Linked DNA regions of Homo sapiens: region 2 is linked to region 1. The links are contacts of gene promoters, found by promoter capture Hi-C in blood cells and fetal thymus (Javierre and others, 2016). All regions are on one chromosome and are shown on one strand. Each heading gives the region's core, a stretch centred on a gene start or on the middle of the fragment in contact. The rest is flanking DNA. Distances are from core to core; before and after follow the strand shown.

Region 1 (5,478 bases), core at 1,714-4,213:
AACGCATCTTGTCTTACATTGGTGGAACTTTTTAAAATGTTGTAAATGTTGTAAATGTTTAAAATCCAATGTTGGTATTATTGAGAGGAAAACATGATTTGACAACATGTATTAAGAGGCTTAGACCGGGTGCAGTGGCTCACGCCCCTAATCCCAACATTTTGCCAGGCTGAGGTGGGAGGATTGCTTAACCCAGGAGTTCAAGACCAGCCTGGGAAACATGGCGAAACCCGTCTCTACAAAAAATTAGCCGGACGTGGTGATGCGCACCTGTAGTCCCAGCTACTCGGGAGGCTGAGGTGGGTGGATCCCTTGACCCCAGGAGGCGGAGGTTGCAGTGGGCTGAGATCACGCCACTGCACTCCCGAGTGACAGAGTGAGACCCTGTCTCAAAAAATAAAAAGGCCTTAAAAGTGTTTATTCTCTTATACCTAGTAATATGATGCTGAGCAGTTTTAAACACATAAAGTGCACGAAAGATTTATGTATGAGGATATTATTATTTTTTTTTTTTTTTGAGACGGAGTCTCGCTCCGTCGCCCAGGATGGAGTGCAATGGCGCGATCTCGGCTCACTGTAAGCTCCGCCTCCTGGGTTCACACCATTCTGCTTCAGCCTCCCGAGTAGCTGGGACTCTAGGTGCCCGCCACCATGCCCGGCTAATTTTTTTGTATTCTTAGTACAGACGGGGTTTCACCGTGTTAGCCAGGATGGTCTCGATCTCCTGACCTTGTGATCCGCCTGCCTCGGCCTCCCAAAGTGCTGGGATTACAGGCGTGAGCCACCGCGCCCGGCCGAGGATATTCTTTAAAACAAGGAAATGGTCACTTAAAGTGAAAAAGGCAATTTACAAAGTACATTTTTTTTTTTCTTTTTTGAGACAGTATTGCTCTGTCATGCAGGCTGGAGTGCAGTGGTGCGATCTCGGCTCACTGCAAACTCCATCTCCCAGGTTCAAGCGATTCTCCTACCTCAGCCTCCTAGGAGCTGGGATTACAGGCGCTAGCCACCACGCACGGCTAATTTTTGTCTTTTTAGTAGAGATGGGGTTTCACCATGTTATCCAGGCGGGTCTCAAACTCCTGAACTCAAGTAAGCCACCTCCATCGGCCTCCCCAAATGCTCGGATTACAGGCGTGAGCCACCACACCCTACCAAATACTATATTTCAGAAGAATTCAGGGAGTGGAAATGCACATACCAAAGAGGGCAGTTGTGGATCCAATAGCCCTGCCTCCAATTCTCACAATTTCCAGATTCAATCTTAATTCCCATTCCCTCATCCCAAGAGAAGTAGAGAAAGACCAGTAGAGCTGGAATAATGACAGGTGGAAATAACTCAGAAGCCACTCAAGGCAAAAAGCATGCAGAGGGGCCTAAGGGAGCCAATAGGATTCCAATTCTGGTTACAGAAAAATCCAAGTCAAAATCACTCTTTGACAATCTAAAGGAATGAGATATTAATTATGTTCCCCTGGGGTTGTGAAAAACAGCCCTGCCTTTTGGAGATTAGAAGTGAAGCAGGTAAGAACCATATCTAAAGCAGGAGAAGAAGCTTCCCTCAGTAGGTGGTTGATAGGGGTCTGGGAATCATCCAAGTTAATCAGGGTGACTATAGATAATCCGAGTGTGTTATATCCTGACAGAAAACAAAGGGTGGATGTGCATTGGCAAAAACAAAATAAGAAACCAATTTGCAGGCATGAGTGGACCAGTACCCAGGACTCTCTTCCAGTAGCCTACAGTAGATAGAGGGCTCTGACTTATCGGAGAAGTCCTGCTTGGCTGGAGAAGGGCATCAAGCTGTTTATCAGCGCCTCATGCCCTTAACAGTTAAGACCATCCAACTAACCTGGCTGTTACTCCATGAATCTCGTGCAGCTTTCTGAAAATCATGGGGTCTCTGCGGACTTTCCTGCAGAAAGAGAGCCCACTGATTCCACTACCTAGATAAAGGCGTGGTGGTGGGCCCCTGTAATCCCAACTACTCGGTGTAAGAATTAAAGAAAGAGGAAAGAAACACGAAAAGTGGCTTGGTGGTCATAAGAGGTTTATTTTAGAGAAAACCTGAGAGGGGCGTCTGGCCAAGTTAGGTCAGAGGCACACTCTCTTACAGACTAAGTAAGTTTTTAAGGATTCGGAGTGGGAGAGTTTATCAGAGGCTTGGACTGCTTCTGTGTCTCTTTGTTGTGCTTATCTCGGAGGGAGAGTTGTGTGTCTGTTCCCATACATCTTTCTGCAGCTGCAGACATACCCCCTGAGTCTAATTTTTGTATTTTTAGTAGAGAGGGGTTTCACCATGTTGGCCAGGCTGGTCTCGAACTCCTGACCTCAGGTGATCCTCCCGCCTCGGTCTCCCAAATTTCTGGGATTACAGGCGTGAGCCATCTGCGCCCTGCCTAAACTGTTCGGGTTCTAACATTCCAGCATCCTCCTGCGGAACGCAGCCAGGCCTTACTCAGGCCTTCCAATCAGGACCCTTACAGTTCCTGGGGCTGGGATTGCGAGTCTCTCTGGGGCCACGCTTTCTAAGCGTATCACTTCCAGGATACGTGCCTCCAACAGAAGGAATGAAGGCTAGGAAACAAAAACGTGGATGCGGGTGAGGAGCTGTCAGTGTTACCGCCACGACAACGTGGACCCTGCGAAACTCGGAGGTGCCACTCAAGAGCCGAAAGCCTGCCCACTCGGGGTGGGGCGGCAACCCGGAGAGCCAATCAGGAATAAGGAGTCCGGTTCATGAAAAGGTAGCCGGATTCTGACTGGGATACTCACTGTGAGAAGGCTGGGCGGAGTTGCAGAAAGTCAACAGAAGCCGAATCTCTGAATTTCTGTTCGCAGCCTCCTAGGCGGGGCCGGGAAAAAAATCCAGTAGTCTGCGCTGACTGGGCGGCGAGGGACCGGGAGGAGCCAATCAGAAGTCAGGACTCGCGGGGCTTGGAGGAGGGGCGCGGGCGCTGCGGCCCCTGCTCTACCTCCTAGCGCCGGTGCGCGGCCGAGGCCGCACTACCTGTCTGCGGGAAAGCGGGATCCACCCCAGGACGTCGGGTCGCTGCCGGTGAGCCAAGGAGGGGGAAGCAGAGACGAGCCCTGCGTCCCCGCTGCGGGAGTCGGGGTCGCCCCCGAGGGCAGGGAGGCTCGCTGCAAGTGTGGAGCCGGGAGTCCTATGCCTCAGGCTCCTCCAGCCCGCGCTATCCTCAGCTCGCTGCGTGCGTGATGGGCAAGTCACCCTTCTTCCCGGACCTCACCTGTAACCTAGGAGGGCTGAGCTGGGCCCCCAGAATGAAAGCGTGGCACCCGAGAAGCTGTCGAGGCCAGCCCTCCCGGGTCTGTGTGGGGTCGCTGGCCGAGGGCTGTGCCGGCGCCTGGCCGGTGTCTACTGGGAGCAGTCTCTGAGCTCCGCTGAACCTCACTTACTCATGCGCCCTCCTCCTCTCTTTTCCTGCCTCTTGGTTCAGCAGCCCCTCTGCAGCCCGCTCACCCACCACTTTTTCCCCTTCACCCACCAGGAAGACCCTTAAAAGCACCTAGTAATGCACTGTTGTCTTTGAAAAACTGCAGATGCTAGATTCCCCACCTTTCTGTTTCATGATCCCCTTGGGGTTGAACTGCCCCGTGAGTCTGTGGAATGAAGGTCACCCTTGGTTCACCATTTAATATTAAATAAGGGACTAGCCTAGGGGCTGAGAATACAGAGATTGACTGGGTATAATCCCTTGGAAGGACGCAGCAAAAGGGAATGTAGGAGAAGAAAGGTAGAGTTGGAAGACATGCTAAGGTAGAATTTACTAGACTTTGTTACACGTTGGGAGTGAGGGACAGGAAAGAATCAAGAATGACTCCTGTTTCTTGTCTGGTATACTTTGCACAAAGTACAGAGCTTAAGTTCCAGCCCCCTCCCGGCTGCAGGACAAAGGTGGTGAGATTCTGACGCAGATCTTGGAGTTGGAAATCACACTTGCTTCCTGCGGGCTTTTTCAGGAGCTAAATACTGTTGGCCGGATATATAGACCAACAGCCTATAGTACCTGAATTCCTCCTCTCCCTTTCAATGAAGTAGGAAAAAAAGTTAATAATTTTTAAAAATGTGTGAGTGGGCAACATAGCGAGACACTGTCTCTAAAAAAATAAAAATAATAAAATCAAAAAGACAGCCATGATGGCTTGCACCTGTAATCCCAGCACTTTGGGAGACCAAGGTAGGAGGATTGCTTGAGCCCAGAAGTTCGAGACCAGCCTGGGCAACATAGTGGGACCCTCTCTCTCCAAAAAAAAAAAAAAAAAAAAGGCCAGGCATGGTGGCACCTGCCTGCAGTCCCAGCTATTTGGGAAGCTCAGGTGGGAGGATCCCTTGAGCCCAGGAGTTGGAAGCTGCAGTAAGCAGTGATTGTGCCACTGTACTCCAGACTGGGTGACAGAGACCTTGTCTCAAAAACAAAAAAAAAAAAATTCCCCTCCATACAAAGGAGACATTTGGTTAAGACAGACATGTCTGATAAACATATTTTTTTCTTTGTTTTTATTTACTCTCAAGAGTTGACTTGATCTGTGCCATTAGTTCTATGATATGGAGCGCTTATATAAAGAAAAAAGGCGAACTTAAAGAACTTTAGTGGCATGGAATACTAGAGCTAGAGGAGACTTTTAGTAATAATCTAATCCAACTCTGTTTTAGAGGAGACATGACTAGTCCAGAGTTTCAGAGGTTAGGTAGCAGAACTGGGACTAAAATATGTCCTATTTCTCCCAGCACAGCCTTTTATTACATCAGTCTATTTGGATGGCCAGAGCTAACAACCTTGCTTTACATGGCTATGGAAAACAGCGCTCTCCTAAGAGGAGCTTAACAAGTCAAAGATTGTATGGGAACATCTGGAATAGAAAGGAGATTGGCCTTCACCAGTTGCCTCTAAGGTTCCTTACAACTTTAAGAACTTATCATTCATTTCAAATTCAGAATTGTTCTGACATCGTTAACGCTTTGGGAGTTGAAAATGACTCCAGGATTTCATCTTGGAGTTAATGCTTCAGTCCATATTGCATTTTGAATACTTACCTTATACCAGTTTACATATCTCCAGAAAGAATGTTAAAATTCCTTGTAAAGTTTTAAGCCTAAATACAGTGTGACAGGATATGTTGGTTCCCAGAAGTTTCAAGTGCAAAGATTGTTTTGAAACTCCATTTAGGCTTTGTCACAGTACCTTCAGTGAACAAAATCTGAACGGCTTAACTTGCTTCTGAAAGCAAATGCCTGGTTAGAAAGTAAACAGGAAACATGATTGTCAAGAAGGCATTAACTTGCAGTAACAGGTGATGGAAACCGATCAGTGGCACAAGCTATGCAAGTTAAGAGGCTGGAGCAATCACTTTGGGTAGGAGGATCAGGGAAGGCCATGGCAGGGGCTAGGGGGTGGTTAGCGTTTGAGGGTTACCTCTCCCTTATTTTCTCTTCTCTTTTTTTTTCTTTCTTTCTTT
Region 2 (5,478 bases), core at 823-3,322, 190 kb before region 1:
GACACAGGCCCTTCAGCGCTGGTGGCCAACTCAGCAGTGCATCCTTGATCTGGCTTTTGCTTCTTCCTTTGTTCCGCCCCTGCCCCTCACTCCTGCTCTCTGGGATTGAATTCCTAAGACAGCTCCCTGCTTGGGGTCTTTGTCTCAGGCTCTGCTTTAGGGGGAATCCAGGCTAAGACAGTTTCCAAGCACCCATGATTGCAAATAATCCACTGTTTTGATAAATTCGGCCAATTTTTTTTTTTTGGTGTGCAAATAAAGTTCTCATTCCCTTGCCTTCAGAGATGATTTCTTGAGGGGTGAGAAGGGGTGTGGAATAGGGACACTCCAAAGAGCCTTTTGCAGCCGTCGGGAGAAGGCCAGGAACCAGGGGACCTGTTGGAGGCTGGGAGGTCAGTGAGGGGCCTGTGCTGGGTGGGCTGGGGTGTCTGTGGGAACTCATCACATTGGTGTAGGGGGTAACTGCTATTGGGGGTGTCTTGTGCCTGAAGAACTGAGTTATTCTCTGAGCAAAGCTCTAGATGTAAAGAAACTGACCCAGATCCTCCACGGACTTCAATTCCAGGCTCCTGCCAAATCAGTGGGGAACGGGAAACCAAGTAATAGAGGCCCCTAGACTGCAGAATATCCGCTCTGAGCACTCAGTCAGGAGGACAGGGATCCTGCCGAGCTGAGGTCCTAGAGGAGAGGCAGTGTTTCGGGGGGATGAGGAGGTCATACTCCACGGAATGGCTAAAAAATAGCAGCATCCTTGGCCTGCAGAGACCGGGGAGGCAGAGGCGGGGTGGGTGCTGGGCCTGCTGGGCAGACCTCAGTCAGGCTATGCTGGTCCGAGGGAATGCATATAGTCTCTGACCTCGAACGGGGCCAGGCTCTAGGGACAGGCCACAGAGAAGCACCTGGACTCATAGGAAGAAGGGTCTTTCTCACAGGTTGAACCATGCCACAGGAGTAGGGGCTGCCTTGGAGGTATAAGCCTCCAGTCCCAGGGGATGTACAAGCCACAGCTGGACAGCCAAATGCAGGGCAGGCAGAGTGGGCCCCAGCAGCACAGTGTGGTGCCCCAGCCGCCCCTCAACACCAGCCTGCTCCTGTTGCTGAGCTGTGGTCGGGAGGACTGCAGAAGACTGAAGGAATCTTCGAACCAGGACAGCTCCAATGCTGGACTCCTTCACCCTCCGATATCTACCCAACCCACAACAGGATCTCCGCCCTGTACCTCCCCACTCTCAGCAACCAGATCTTGGGGGCTTCTGCTGTGCACAACTCTAAGATCCAGGCAGCATCCTATGGGCTTTTCAGGGCTGTGGGCTGGCGTGAGGCCCTCCTCTCTGGCCTCAATGCTCACACTCCTTATGATCTGCCTCCTCTCCCATCAAACAATGTCCCTCCTTTGTGAATCTCCAAATCCAGGTGGCCATCCAATGCCCTGGGAATCCTTCTCCGAGGCCCCAGCCCTCAGCCATCTCAGTCCGGGGTTCTTCACGGGCTCTTTCTATGCTCCTCCTGTCGGGTCCTGGAGTGGAGATGGACAAAGCCACTCTGAGAGGAAGGAGGGGGAGCCTCAGGATTAGATGCACTCGGGTGACAGACTAGCGGGGTCTCTAGATGCTGAAGGGAGGTGACCCAGCCCCATGACCTAGCTCCAGGACATGTAACTAGAAAGGGGCTCTGGGGAGCAGGGCAGAGCAGGCTGGGCTCCGGGCCCAGGGCTGTTGAAATTTCCATGACCACCAGATTAAGGCCACCTGGGTGAGGCTACTCCTACAGGAGGAGCCAAAGGGACCCAGTTGTGGGAGGGGCTGGAGGTAGAGATTCAGAAGGGGAATGGAGGGTCTTCAGCAAGACCTGCGGGGAGGTGGGCTGTTTCCCTCTGCGCTGTGCCTCTCTCCAGGGGCCAAGGGGCCTGGTGGCTAATGGGCCTCCCCACTCGGGACCCACTTTGACCTGCGCTTCCTGGCTGAACCTGGGCCTCTGGAATTCTCTGTCTGTTCTCTGGTCCCCTCTTATCCTTGTCCCTAAGCCAGGAGCATGCCCCGAGGTTGGGTTCTAACCTGGGCTCAGCCACTTGTAAGAAAAGTAACTTTAGCTATTGAAACTCTGTTTTCTTATCTGTATTTTTAAAAATTTTAGTTTTTATTTATTTTGTAGAGACAGGGTCTCACTGTGTTGCCCAGGCTGGTCTTGGACTTCTGGCCTAAAGCGATCCTCCCACCTTGACTTTCCAAAGTGCTAGGGTTACAGGTGTGAGCCACGTGCCCAGCCTCACCTGTAAAATGAAGACAATTTCTTCTTGGGTCTGTTACGAAGATTAATAAGACAAGGACTCAGCAGCACTTAGCGCAGTGCTTGGCTTACAGAGAGTGCTTGATAAACGGGAGCGAATAGTGATAGGATCATTGCTTCCTGTTTTGAGTCTTTCATTCTGCTGAAAGGTAAGGTCTCAGGGAAGGACATGGCTGACCTAAGATCCCCAAGAGGGCCAGGGCAGAGTGGGGATGTGAGCCTAGTCCCCAGATGCCCACTCCCATCCACAGCCTTCTGTGTCTCTAGTACTGTGCTCTGGCTTTCCGTGAGTGGCCAGCTATGGCTTCCTGGCTGCTGGCACTCCTTCCATCCTTTCTGCCACTCTTCCTGCTCTGTGTCTGCATTTTAAAGGGGGCTTTAGGCTGGCTCAGTGGCTCATGTCTGTAATCCCAGAACTTTGGGAGACTGAGGCAGAAGGATTGCTTGAGGTCAGGAGTTCAACACCAGCCTGGGCAACATAGCAAGACCCTGTCTCTATAAAAAATAAGAAAATTAGCCAGGCATGGTGGTATGCACCTGTGGTCCCAGCTATTTGGGAGGCTGAGGCAGGAGTTTGAGGCTGCTGTGAGCCATGATTTTGCCACTGCTCTCCAGCCTGGGTGACAAGGCAAGATCCTGTTTCTAAAAAAATAAAAAAGGAGGGGGGTCATCAGTGTTTTCACCAGGGCCAGGCTCAGGCTCTGTGGGAGAACAGGGGCTGAGGACTCTCCCCCTGACCCCTAGAAGCCCTGCCACGAGGGTGGGGAGGACCTACGACTAGGCAGTCAGAGCCCTCTGCAGCACTCAGGGGCTTGGCCACAAGAGGGAGGGAAAGGGCTTGGCAGAGTAGTCAGGAGACCTAGGTTCCAGCCTTACCTCCACCACCTATGTGCTGTGTGCTTACAGCACATCACTGCTCTCTCTGGGACCCAATTTCCTTGATCACACATACATGCGACCCTCTGCAGTGGCCAGGGTCTCACTCAGCCCAGAAGGGTACTGAGCTCTGGCCAGACAGGGCACAATTCTTTCCTCTCAGAAAACGACAGCTTCTTGGGCCGGGCCTCTGGGGACAGGGGTTCCTGCTCTCTAGGAGCTGCCTGTAAAGGTCCCTTGTCAATTAATTTGGCAGCTCAGTGTTCAGGGGCAAGTGCTCTTTGAGAGGCCTAATGTATCCCCATCAGAAATGACTTATGGGATTCTCCGTGGGGCTGTGATCATGCCCTGCCCCCCGCCATGCCCCCTCAAGGCTTGCTTTGTCATCCAGTCCCTGTGTTTGCATGTGTCATTGCCCAGCCACCCCCTGGTCAGAGGGTGGCCACGGGAGACTCATTGGAGGCACATTATCGGACACTGGTTGTGAGGGATGATGGAGGGGCAGGCCCATCTGCACACACATTAAGCCCTTTGTCTCTGGACTCAGTGGGAAGATGAATGAGGCCTGTCGCTAGGCCTCTGCTGCCTGGGGGACAAAAGGGGCCTGGAACAGGCCTTGGGATGGGTGTTGGGTGGAAAGCAGCCTGTGCGCATCTCTTCAGACAGAACCAGATCTAACAGGCTTAACCAGAGACAGCTGAGAGGAGGCAGGCGGTCAGGAAGGAGTCCCAGAAAGCCCCGGGAGTCAGGCGGGGTTTCTGCTTGACGGAGCCCGGTGTTTCCCCTATAAAAGCTGATGCTTGGTCTTAGGGGCTGGGGCTCCATTTGCATTGTGTAAATACAGGCTGGCAGCGCTCTCAGATGAGCTGATTCAAACTCCTCACTCTACCGTGGGGAACCTCAGGCCTGAAAAAGCAAGGACTCACTCACCTAAGGTCGTTTCAGGAATCAGCAGCGGGGGCAGGACAAGAACCGATGTGATAAAATTCCATAGCCACCACCGCCCTATTTGGTGCAGATCCAACTAAACACACCCTCAATGACTCTGAGACAAGGTACAGTTTCCTGAGGGCAAGAGAAGGGCGAAACGGGACTTTTGCTCATTCCTGGACTTTTAGGGGTTGACAGATTGGCTCTAAAGTTTATATGGATGAATAAATATACAAGGATAACCGGGAGGCCTCTGGGTATAGGAGGCTTTGTTGCTTCAGAGGGTCAGGCAGGGCTGGCAGCACAACAGAGCTGTGAAGTGCAGGGCCAGCAATGGCAGGAGCTGTGCCGAGGTTGCCCCCGTGAGCCTCCTACAACGCAGGTGAACACATCACTCCGCAGCTCATCAACCTTTTGTGGCTCCCCATGGCCACAGGGCACAGTCCCAACTTCTCAGCCTGGCATCTGAGGCCCTCTGTGATCTGCCTCTGCTTCTTCTCACACCCATCTCCAGAAGGCAGCCCAGTCTAAATGTCAGCACCCTGGGGAGCCCTCTTCTGGACACTCACAGCGTGCTGCTCCGAGCACTGCCATGCCAGGTGACTTCACTCTCCTGATTTTGAAGATCCCTGTTTCCATGCCTCTCCTTCGGTGAATCATATGTTCTGGGCCTGACCTGGATCCCCAGTCCTGACACCCAGCCCAGCACGGGAGCTCAGTGAATGAATGAATGAATGAAATGAATGAATGAAATGAATGAATGAATGAATGAATGAAATGAATGAATGAATGAATGAATGAAATGAATGAATGAATGAAATGAAATAACTATGCACCCTGGACCTCTTCTCCCTGACCCCACAGTAGCTCTTTGGGAAAGCAATGTGGGCATACCCTACCCTGTGCTTCAGCAATTCCACTCCTAGAACAGCTCTTTAAGGAAAGAATCCAAAAACAAAGAAAAACTGCTTCAGAGACACAGATGCTCATTGCAGTGCCCCTCATATTGTTAAAAAAAAAAAGTGGGCAAATCCTAAATGTCCAATAGAAAGGGACTGTGTTGAGTAAATTAGTGTACATCCATGTGATGGGATTGTTCACACCGAAGACCTGAAGCTGGCTGGAAAGGGGAGGAGGAGACTTAGGTATTTAATTAATTCTGGAACGTTTGAATATTATACACAAGGATTTACATTTGAAGTGCCCCTTTTTTATGTCCTGCATTTCTATATATGCACAGGTGATATGTCCCTGGACTCTTAATTCTATTCTATCAATCTGTTTTTTTACTCTTGTGCCAATTTCCATGGTTTTAAAACACTAAAGCTTTAGGATAATTTTTATATCTGGTGGAAAAATTTCCTCCTCTTTATTCTTCCTTTTCAT

What was found. The method cuts DNA at HindIII sites, captures the fragments that hold promoters and counts their contacts. A CHiCAGO score of 5 or more calls a contact.
Region 2: a fragment that was not itself captured here is called in contact with the fragment with the promoter of HYKK in region 1 in 3 of 17 cell types (megakaryocytes, M2 macrophages and M0 macrophages); the score reaches 7.5 in megakaryocytes.

Annotation. Positions count from the first base shown.
Region 1 is chr15:78,504,614-78,510,091 of GRCh38, forward strand. It overlaps HYKK (hydroxylysine kinase), which reads left to right and starts at 2,964. Exons shown (of 5, transcript NM_001013619.4): 1 at 2,964-3,058. The HindIII fragment of the contact is 14,973 bases long and covers 1,554-5,478 here.
Region 2 is chr15:78,312,751-78,318,228 of GRCh38, forward strand. No RefSeq gene overlaps it. Among named protein-coding and RNA genes, the nearest start is that of SKIC8, 16 kb to the left of the region's middle. RefSeq lists an enhancer at 2,998-3,047 and a silencer at 3,917-4,026. The HindIII fragment of the contact is 6,688 bases long and covers 1-5,416 here.